Regions from separate parts of the Homo sapiens genome. Here region 1 is linked to region 2. The links are contacts of gene promoters, found by promoter capture Hi-C in blood cells and fetal thymus (Javierre and others, 2016). All regions are on one chromosome and are shown on one strand. The core of a region is centred on a gene start or on the middle of the fragment in contact, and the rest is flanking DNA. Distances in the headings are between cores, read along the strand shown. Region 1 overlaps ITGB4 (integrin subunit beta 4). Region 2 holds the start of MYO15B (myosin XVB).

Region 1 (5,953 bases), core at 2,645-5,144, 160 kb after region 2:
CAGGGGGCTTTGGGTTTCTTGAGCTGGGATCGAAGACCCCATGTCCCCAGGCCAGACTCCCCAAGGGCTGTCACAATTTGCCAAGCAGCAGGAGCAACCCTTCAAGGCAGGGAGTGCCATGGCTGGACCAGCATCACCTTCACTGCTGAGCCCCAGTGCTGGGGTACAGCCAAATCAGGTGGCACACAGGCTGGACTGGGTTTACAGGCTTCATAGTTTTGTTTCTTTTGTTTTGTGTGGGGATTTTTTGCTTCTTAATTTTTGGGGGAGACAGGGTCTTGCTATGTTGCCCAAGCTGGTCTTGAACTCCTGACCTCAAGTGATCCACCCACCTCGGCCTCCCAAAGTGCTGGGATTACAGGAGTGAGCTACCACGCCCGGCCTAGTTTTTGTATTTTTAGAAGAGATGGGGTTTTGCCATGTTGGCCAGGCTGGTCTTAAACTCCTGATCTCAAGTGATCCGCCCACCTCGGCTTCCCAAAGTGCAGGGATTACAGGTGTAAGCCAGTGCACCTGGCCTTTCTAGTTTTTAAATGTTGGCAACAAATCCATAATTAAAAACAAAGGCGGGGCATGGTGGCTCACACCTGTAATCCCAGCACTTTGGGAGGCTAAGGTGGGAGAATCACTTAAACCCAGGAGTTCAAGACCAGCCTAGGCAACGTGGTGAGACCATGTCTATACATATAATTTAAACATTAGCTGGGCATGGTAGTGCATACTTGTGGACCCAGCTACTTGGAAGGCTGAGGCAGGAAGATCACTTGAGGCCAGGAGGTTGAGGCTACAGTGAGCCATGTTCATGCCACTGTACTTCAGCCTAGGCAACAGAGTAAGACCCTGTCTAAAAAAATAATAATAATTAATTTTTTAAAAATCAAACAAAAAAACAAAGAAACAAAACCTGGCTCAGTGCAGTAGCTCATGCATGTAATCCCAACACTGTGGGAGGGCACAGTGGGAGGATCACTTGAGCCCAGGAGTTGCAGGCCAGCTTGGGCAACATAGTAAGACCCTGTCTCTATTTTAAAAAAATAATAATAATAATAAAGGCCAGGCGAGGTGGCGTATGCCTGTAATCCTAGCACTGTGGGAGGCCAAGGCAGGTGGATCGCCTGAGGTCACGAGTTCGAGACCAGCCTGGCCAACATGGTGAAACCCTGTCTCTACTAAAAATACAAAAATTAGCTGGGCATGGTGACACGTGCCTCTAATCCCAGCTACCCGGGAGGCCGAGGCAGGAGAATTGCTGGAAACCAGGAGGTGGAGGCTGCAGTGAACCGAGATCATGCCACTGCACTACAGCTTGAGCGACAGAGTGAGACTCTGTCTCGAAAAAAGAAAAAAAAAATTATCTCAAAAGTAATAAAGTCTCGCCTCCCTGGGCCCACAGGCCCATTCAGCAAACATAGGGGAGCGCGTAGTCAGCAGGCCCGGGCTGCCTGGCCACATCCTAATTTTATTTACTTCTTTTTATTGACAGGAACTGTTCTCATTATTTTTCCAATGTCCCCCCATAAAAATTCCAAAGAATAATTTTTTTCTTTTAAGAGACAAGGTCTCCCTCTAGTCCAGGGTGGAGTACAGGGGCACAGTCCTAGCTCTCTGCAATCTTGAACTCCTGGGCTCAAGCAGTCCTTCAACCTCAACCTCCCAAGTAGCTGGGACTACAGATGTCCACCACCGCACGGCTAATTTTGTATTTTTTTTTCTTTGAGACGGAGTCTCACTCTGTTGCCCAGGCTGGCGCGATCTCAGCTTACTGCAACCTCCACCTCCAGGGTTCAAGCGATTCTCCTGCCTCAGCCTCCCAAGTAACAGGGACTACAGGTGCGCACCACCACACCCAGCTAAATTTTGTATTTTTAGTAGAGACGGGGTTTCACCATGTTGGTCAGGCTGGTCTCGAACTCCTGACCTCGTGATCCGCCCACCTCAGCCTCCCAAAGTGCTGGGATTACAGGCATCAGCCACCGCGCCCGGCCATTTTATATTTTTAGTAGAGATAGGGTTTCGCCATGTTGCCCAGGCTGGTCTCAAACTCCTAGGATAACATGATCCTTTTGCCTTGCCTTCTGGCTACCCTGTTACACTTGTATAAAGATGCTTTGAGGCTGGGTACAGTGGCTCATGCCTGTAATCCCAGCACTTTGGGAGGCCAGGGCGGGCAGATCGCTTGAGATCAGGAGTTCAAGACCAGCCTGGCCAACATGGCGAAACCCTGTCTGTACCAAAAATACAGAAAATTATCTGGGTGTTGTGGTGTGCACCTGTGGTCCCAGCTACTCGGGAGGCTGAGGTAGAGCCCAGTAGGTGGAGGTTGCAGTTAGCCGAGATAGTGCCACTGCACTCCAGCCTGGGTGACAGAGTGAAACCCCTGTCTCAAAAAAAAAAAAAAAAAAAAAGCTTTGATATTTGTTTTTTAAAACATTTTAATTTCTCACCTTTTTATTTTTAAAAACTTCAACTTACAGAAAAATGGAAGGAACAGTAAAACTAGCACCCATTTACCCTTTACATAGATTCACCGATTGCTAATATTTGCTTTCTCTCTCTTTCTATATAGATAGCAACATAGAAATATAAATAGAGATGTGGACATCTGTATCTTCACATTGATTATACTAGTACCTAAAATTAGTCCATATTCCAGCCAGGCGTGGTGGCTCACACCTGTAATCCCAGCACTTTGGGAGGCTGAGGCAGGTGGATCACCTGAAGTCAGGAGTTTGACACCAGCCTGACCAACATGGAGAAACCCCATCTCTACTAAAAATACAAAAATTAGCCGGGCATGGTGGCACACGCCTGTAATCTCAGCTACTAGGGAGGCTGAGGCAGGAGAATCATTTGAACCCAGTGGGTGGAGGTTGCAGTGAGCCAAGATTGCGCCACTTCACTCCAGTCTGGGCAAAAGAGCAAAACTCCATCCCAAAAAATATATAAAATAAAATAAAATAGGTCCATATTCCAATGTCCCCTTGTTCGGATGTCCCAATAATGTCCTTTATAGCGTTTTTCCCCCCAATGCAGGAACTAATCAAGGATTTGGCATTGACTTTTGTCACGTGTCTTGACTCCTTTAATCTAGAAAAGTTTCCTGGCTTTGTCTTCCGTGACACTGACTTTTGTTAAGACAAGGTCTCGCTCTGTCACCCAGGCTGGAGTACAGTGCCTCACTGCAACCTCTGCCTCCCGGGTTCAAGCAATTCTCCTGCCTTAGCCTCCCGAGTAGCTGGGATTACAGGCACCGGCCACCATGCCGGGCTAATGACACTGACGTTTTTGAAGTATCCATGTAGGTTGCTTGCAGGCAGCTCCCTGGTTTGTTTTTTGTTTGTTTGTTTTACAACTATGGGTCTCACTTTCTGAGTTGGGTGGCATGAGGTTGCCTCCCCAGCCATCGCCCTGGCTGCTGCGCCTGGAATTGAAATCTTGCCCTGAAGTGCCACCTAGTGGTCTTCTATGTGAAGGATTTTCTTTTTCCTCCCAGTTCTTATCCTGGAAAGCTCAGGCATGCTCCACGGCACTGAAAGGAAGATGGGTGGCTCACGCCTGTAATCCCAGCACTTTGGGAGGCCAAGGTGGGCGGATCGCTTGAGGCCGGGAGTTCAAGACCAGCCTAGGCAACATAGGGTAACCGTGCCTCTACAAAAAAAAAAAAAAAAAAAATAGCCAGGTGTGGTGCACGCCTGTAGTCCCAGCTACTCAGGCGGCTGAGGGGAAGGATGGCCTGAGCCCAGGAGGTCAAGGCTTCAGTGAGCTGTGATTGTGCCCCTACACTCCAGCCTGGGTGACAGAGTGAGACCCTGTCTCAAAAACAAACAAACAAACAGAAACGTGGCTGGGCATGGTGGCTCATGTCTGTAATCCCAGCACTTTGGGAGGCCAAGGTGGGAGGATCACTTGAAGTCAGGAGTTCGAGACCAGCCTGGCCAACATAGTGAAACCCCATCTCTACTAAAAATACAAAAATTAGCTAGGCGTGGTGGCAGGTGCCTGTAATCCCAGCTACTCAGGAAGATGAGGTGTGAGAATCATTTGAACCTGGAAGGTGGAGGTTGCAGTAAGCCGAGATCATGCCACTGCACTCCAGCCTAGGTGACAGAGTGAGATTACGCCTCAAAAAAAAAAACAAACAAAAAAAACACAAAAACCTGAACCTCGTGTAAGTACTCCACCCAGCAAGCAGGGATGGTCTCTGCAGTGTCCATGAGGTTGGGAGGGAGCGTGTGGCCATGACTCTTGCCTCAGCCCCCAGCCATGACCCTGACCCTGACCCCCTCCACTCCCAGGACTACATCCCCGTGGAGGGTGAGCTGCTGTTCCAGCCTGGGGAGGCCTGGAAAGAGCTGCAGGTGAAGCTCCTGGAGCTGCAAGAAGTTGACTCCCTCCTGCGGGGCCGCCAGGTCCGCCGTTTCCACGTCCAGCTCAGCAACCCTAAGTTTGGGGCCCACCTGGGCCAGCCCCACTCCACCACCATCATCATCAGGGACCCAGGTAGGCAGAGCCTGGGGGTCGGCTTAAGCAGGAGGAGAGGGAAGACTGGGGGGTCTCTCAACTAGGTCTGTCAGACTTAGCAAATCCAAACACAGGACGCCCAGGTAAATCTGAATTTCAGGTAAACAACATACACGTTGGTAGGATAAGTATGTCCCATGCAATATTTGGAACATACTTATCCTTTTTTTTGCAAAATGGGCTGGGTATACTGGCTCACACCTGTAATCCCAGCATTTTGGGAGGCCAAGGTGGGAGGATCACTTGAGCCCAGGAGTTCTAGACCAGCCTGGGCAACATAGTGAGACCTCGTCTCTACAAAAAATAAACAAATTAGCTTGGCATAGTGGTGTGCACCTGCAGTCCCAGCTATTCCGGAGACTGAGGTGGGAGGATCACTTGAGCCCAGGGGGTCTGGGCCGCAGCAAGCTGTGATCGCACCACTGCACAGCACCTGGGCCATGGAATGAGATCCTGTCCCCCAAGAAAAAATAATCTTGTTGTTTATCTGAAATTCAAATGTAACTAGGCATCCTGCATTTTATCTGGCAACCCTACAGCTAGAGAGGCTGTTGTCACCACACAATAGGAATTCTCCCATCAGACCCTGGCCCTTTGGCTTCAGCCTCAATTCCAACTAACATGCAGATGCTTGTGGAAGGAAGGAGTGGGCCAGTTAGTTCCTATCAGCCCTCAGCCTCCCAACTGGGAGAAAGCCTGCCAGGAAGATGGGAGAGGAGGGAGATACTCAGGGTACAGTGTGGAGATGGGGTGGGGAGCAAATGTTCTCATGTGGAATGTTCCCTGAGCTGCCAAGGGAGAAAGGGGCAGACCAACTCCCTCCCGCTTCTGTTCCTCCAGAGACCCTCCTGGGTCCTCCGCCAAGCTTGGCAGGATGCTCTATGTGGCAGCAATGGGGCACCACCAGGTCTCCAGAGACGCGGGTGGGCAGGTCTGAGTTGAATGCGCTGGGTAGAGCGCCCTGGGTGTTGAAGTGGGTCTCTGGCGCCCCCTGGTGGTGAAGGGGGATCTGAGTGGTTGCCCGGCCCCAACCTGACCCGTTAGATGAACTGGACCGGAGCTTCACGAGTCAGATGTTGTCATCACAGCCACCCCCTCACGGCGACCTGGGCGCCCCGCAGAACCCCAATGCTAAGGCCGCTGGGTCCAGGAAGATCCATTTCAACTGGCTGCCCCCTTCTGGCAAGCCAATGGGGTACAGGGTAAGGCGGGGGGCTGAGGGTCACGACAGGTGGATGGGCGGTCTGGCACCAGCACTCACAGAAGAGGTGGGCCGTCCAAGGCCAGGGCCCCCTGAGAGAGAGCAGACAGTGGAACCTAGCACAGGTGGTCAGAGGGAAACCCGGTCTGTGCTGGGAAAGAGGGAAGACCCATTCCTGAGTTTATCAGACATTTGCCCTCCTTCCTAGAATGGGGCCCCCTCCCACCCCCG
Region 2 (2,500 bases), core at 1-2,500:
GCATGTGCCACCACACCTAGGTAATTTTTGTATTTTTAGTAGAGATGGGGTTTCACCATGTTGGCCAGGCAGATCTCGAACTCCTGACATCAGGTGATCCACCCACTTCGGCCTCCCAAAATGCTGGGATTACAGGCATGAGCCACCTCACTTGGCCAGGATCCACTTTGGATGTAGAAACCCATCAATAAGGAATTGGTTCAACCATGGTGCATTTATTTGCAAGGAAGAGAGGGAGGAGAGAAGGGAGGAAGGCAGGCTGGCTTTTTATGGTATTATTATGAAATCACCAGATTACATTGTTAAGTGAAAAAGGCAAAGTGGAGACCCCGGAGCTACATAAGCTACCACTTGTGCTAAAGGGGAAAAATATAATATTTGCTTTTCTCTGCATGGAAAGTTTTTGTTGTTGTTTCTTTGTTTTTGAGACAAACAAAATGCTGTCACCCAGGCTGGAGTGCAGTGGTGTGATCTCAGCTCACTGCAAGCTCTGCCTCCTGGGTTCATGCCATTCTCTCCTGCCTCCTGGGTTCATGCCATTCTCTTGCCTCAGCCTCCCGAGTAGCTGGGACTACAGGCGCCCCCCACCACGACCGGCTAATTTATCGTATTTTTTAGTAGAGACGGGGGTTTCACCATGTTAGCCAGGATGGTCTCCATCTCCTGACCTCGTGATCCGCCCTCCTTGGCCTCCCAGAGTGCTGGGATTACAGGCGTGAGCCACCGCGCCCGGCCAACCTGGAAAATTTTGCAAGGAAATACAGAAATGGGTAACCTCAGGGGAACACTGAGTACATAGGCTGAGGGTCAGGAATGGGAGACTTTTATCTTGTAATGTTTGGATGTTTGAATTATGTGAATGTATTACCTGTTTTAAAAATAGATATTTTAAAAACACACACATTGGGGCAATCAGGAATGTATGGGGTGTGGTTCTGTTCCACAACTCCAAGGAGGTAGACAGGCATGTTTTACACCAGTTCAAGATGTACATTTATGTTTTATGTACTTTTCGGTAAATTGTATTTATTCCACAATTGAAAAGAACAAAAACCCTAGCGACTCATGGAGTGCTGCCGTGTGCCAGGGTGGGCCTGGCCCCAGTCCCTTGGAACCCTCAGAAGGAAGAAGTCCAGACAGGTTCTCTGGGCCCTTCCTTGCTGGGCAAGCACTGAGGTGGGAGTGGAGCATGGACCCCCTCAGTCTGGCGCGGTGCGAGGCTGGCCTGGCTGGCAGCGCCTCCCGGCGGCACTGTTGCCCTGTCCGCAGCTGTAGCGTCTCCTGTTTCCTGGGCGCCTCTATTCCATTGTTGGCCGAGGGGGTCAGGACCCGCCGCCTTCTGCATTATTGATGGTCCTGTAAGGCGGGCACCTCGGGGAGTAGAGCCTGTAGCCCCTGCGAGAGCAGAGCCGGGTGGTGCACTGCACAGAAGGTCACCGCGGGAGGCCAAATCCCCGGGGAGGGGAAAGGACCTGGGCGTCGGGAAGCCCGTCTCCTTTGGGCCAGCCATGGGCAGGAACCAGCGCAAAGCGCCCCAGCGCCTGGAGAGGCCCGGGAGGCCGGCCTCAGGGGAGCAGGAGTCGGGGTCGGCCAGCGCGGATGGCGCGCCCAGCCGGGAACGCCGTTCCGACCGCGGGCAGGCGGACAGGGCGAAACCGGCGGCCGAGCCTGCCACCGCCGGGGGCCAGGGAACCCCTGGTGGCCGCAGGAAGCCCACTGCAGAGGGGAACGGCGGCTGCAGACGCCCAGGGGCTGGGCTGTCCCCGAAAGCCCAGGAGAGGCAAAGCAACGCGCAGCGTCAGGGACGCGGGCCCAGGGGCGGCCGCGGGGGGCGCCTGGAGGAGGGAAGCCTCTCCGGAGGAGAAGAGCTGGGCGGCCGCCGTAGGAGGAAGCGGAAAGATAAGGGGCCCTCGGCTCGGCGGGGCCGCCGGACGCCCAGGAGCCTCAATGGGGACACGTCGGGTGGGGACGGAGGCAGCTCCTGTCCGGACAGCGAAACCCGCGAGGCCCAGGAGAGCGGCAGCCAGCGCGGCACAGCCCGGGAGCTGCGGCCCACGCCGGAGCCTACGGACATGGGCTCGGAAGGGACAAAAACCGGGCCGGAGTCAGCGCTGGAGCCAAGCAGCGACGGCCTGGACAGCGACTGGCCCCACGCAGATACCCGGGGCCGGGAAGGGTCGTCGGGGACGGGGCCCCTGGGAGCCAGCGAGCATTCCGGCGGGGACTCCGACTCGAGTCCGCTGGGGACCGGACCTGGACGGGGCTCTCGGGCAGCTATGGCCTCCAGGACCTTCGAGGACAGCTCGCGGGCTCCTCGGGACACTGGGCCGGCCAAGGACGCGAGCGACAACCGGGCGCAGCGGGGCGCCGAGCCAGAAACAATGCAGGCCTCGACGGCCCGGGCTCCGCGCCACCAGGTCGGAAAGGCGGTGGGGCAGGTGCCAGCGGCGGCAGGCGAGGGCGAAGCGGGAGCCGCAGCAGGAGCGGGGCCGGAGGACCC

The links. The method cuts DNA at HindIII sites, captures the fragments that hold promoters and counts their contacts. A CHiCAGO score of 5 or more calls a contact.
Region 1: a contact is called between a fragment that was not itself captured here and the fragment with the promoter of MYO15B in region 2, in 11 of 17 cell types (endothelial precursors, erythroblasts, megakaryocytes and 8 more). The highest score is 12.8, in endothelial precursors.

The regions. Positions count from the first base shown.
Region 1 is chr17:75,744,546-75,750,498 of GRCh38, forward strand. ITGB4 (integrin subunit beta 4) reads left to right here. Exons shown (of 40, transcript NM_000213.5): 27 at 4,296-4,500; 28 at 5,566-5,723. Among named protein-coding and RNA genes, the nearest start is that of GALK1, 18 kb to the right of the region's middle. The HindIII fragment of the contact is 2,980 bases long and covers 2,405-5,384 here.
Region 2 is chr17:75,586,550-75,589,049 of GRCh38, forward strand. It overlaps MYO15B (myosin XVB), which reads left to right and starts at 1,251. Exons shown (of 64, transcript NM_001395058.1): 1 at 1,251-2,500. The coding sequence starts at 1,509. RefSeq lists enhancers at 1,067-1,900, 1,403-1,472, 1,901-2,500 and a silencer at 2,353-2,482. The HindIII fragment of the contact is 9,041 bases long and covers 1-2,500 here.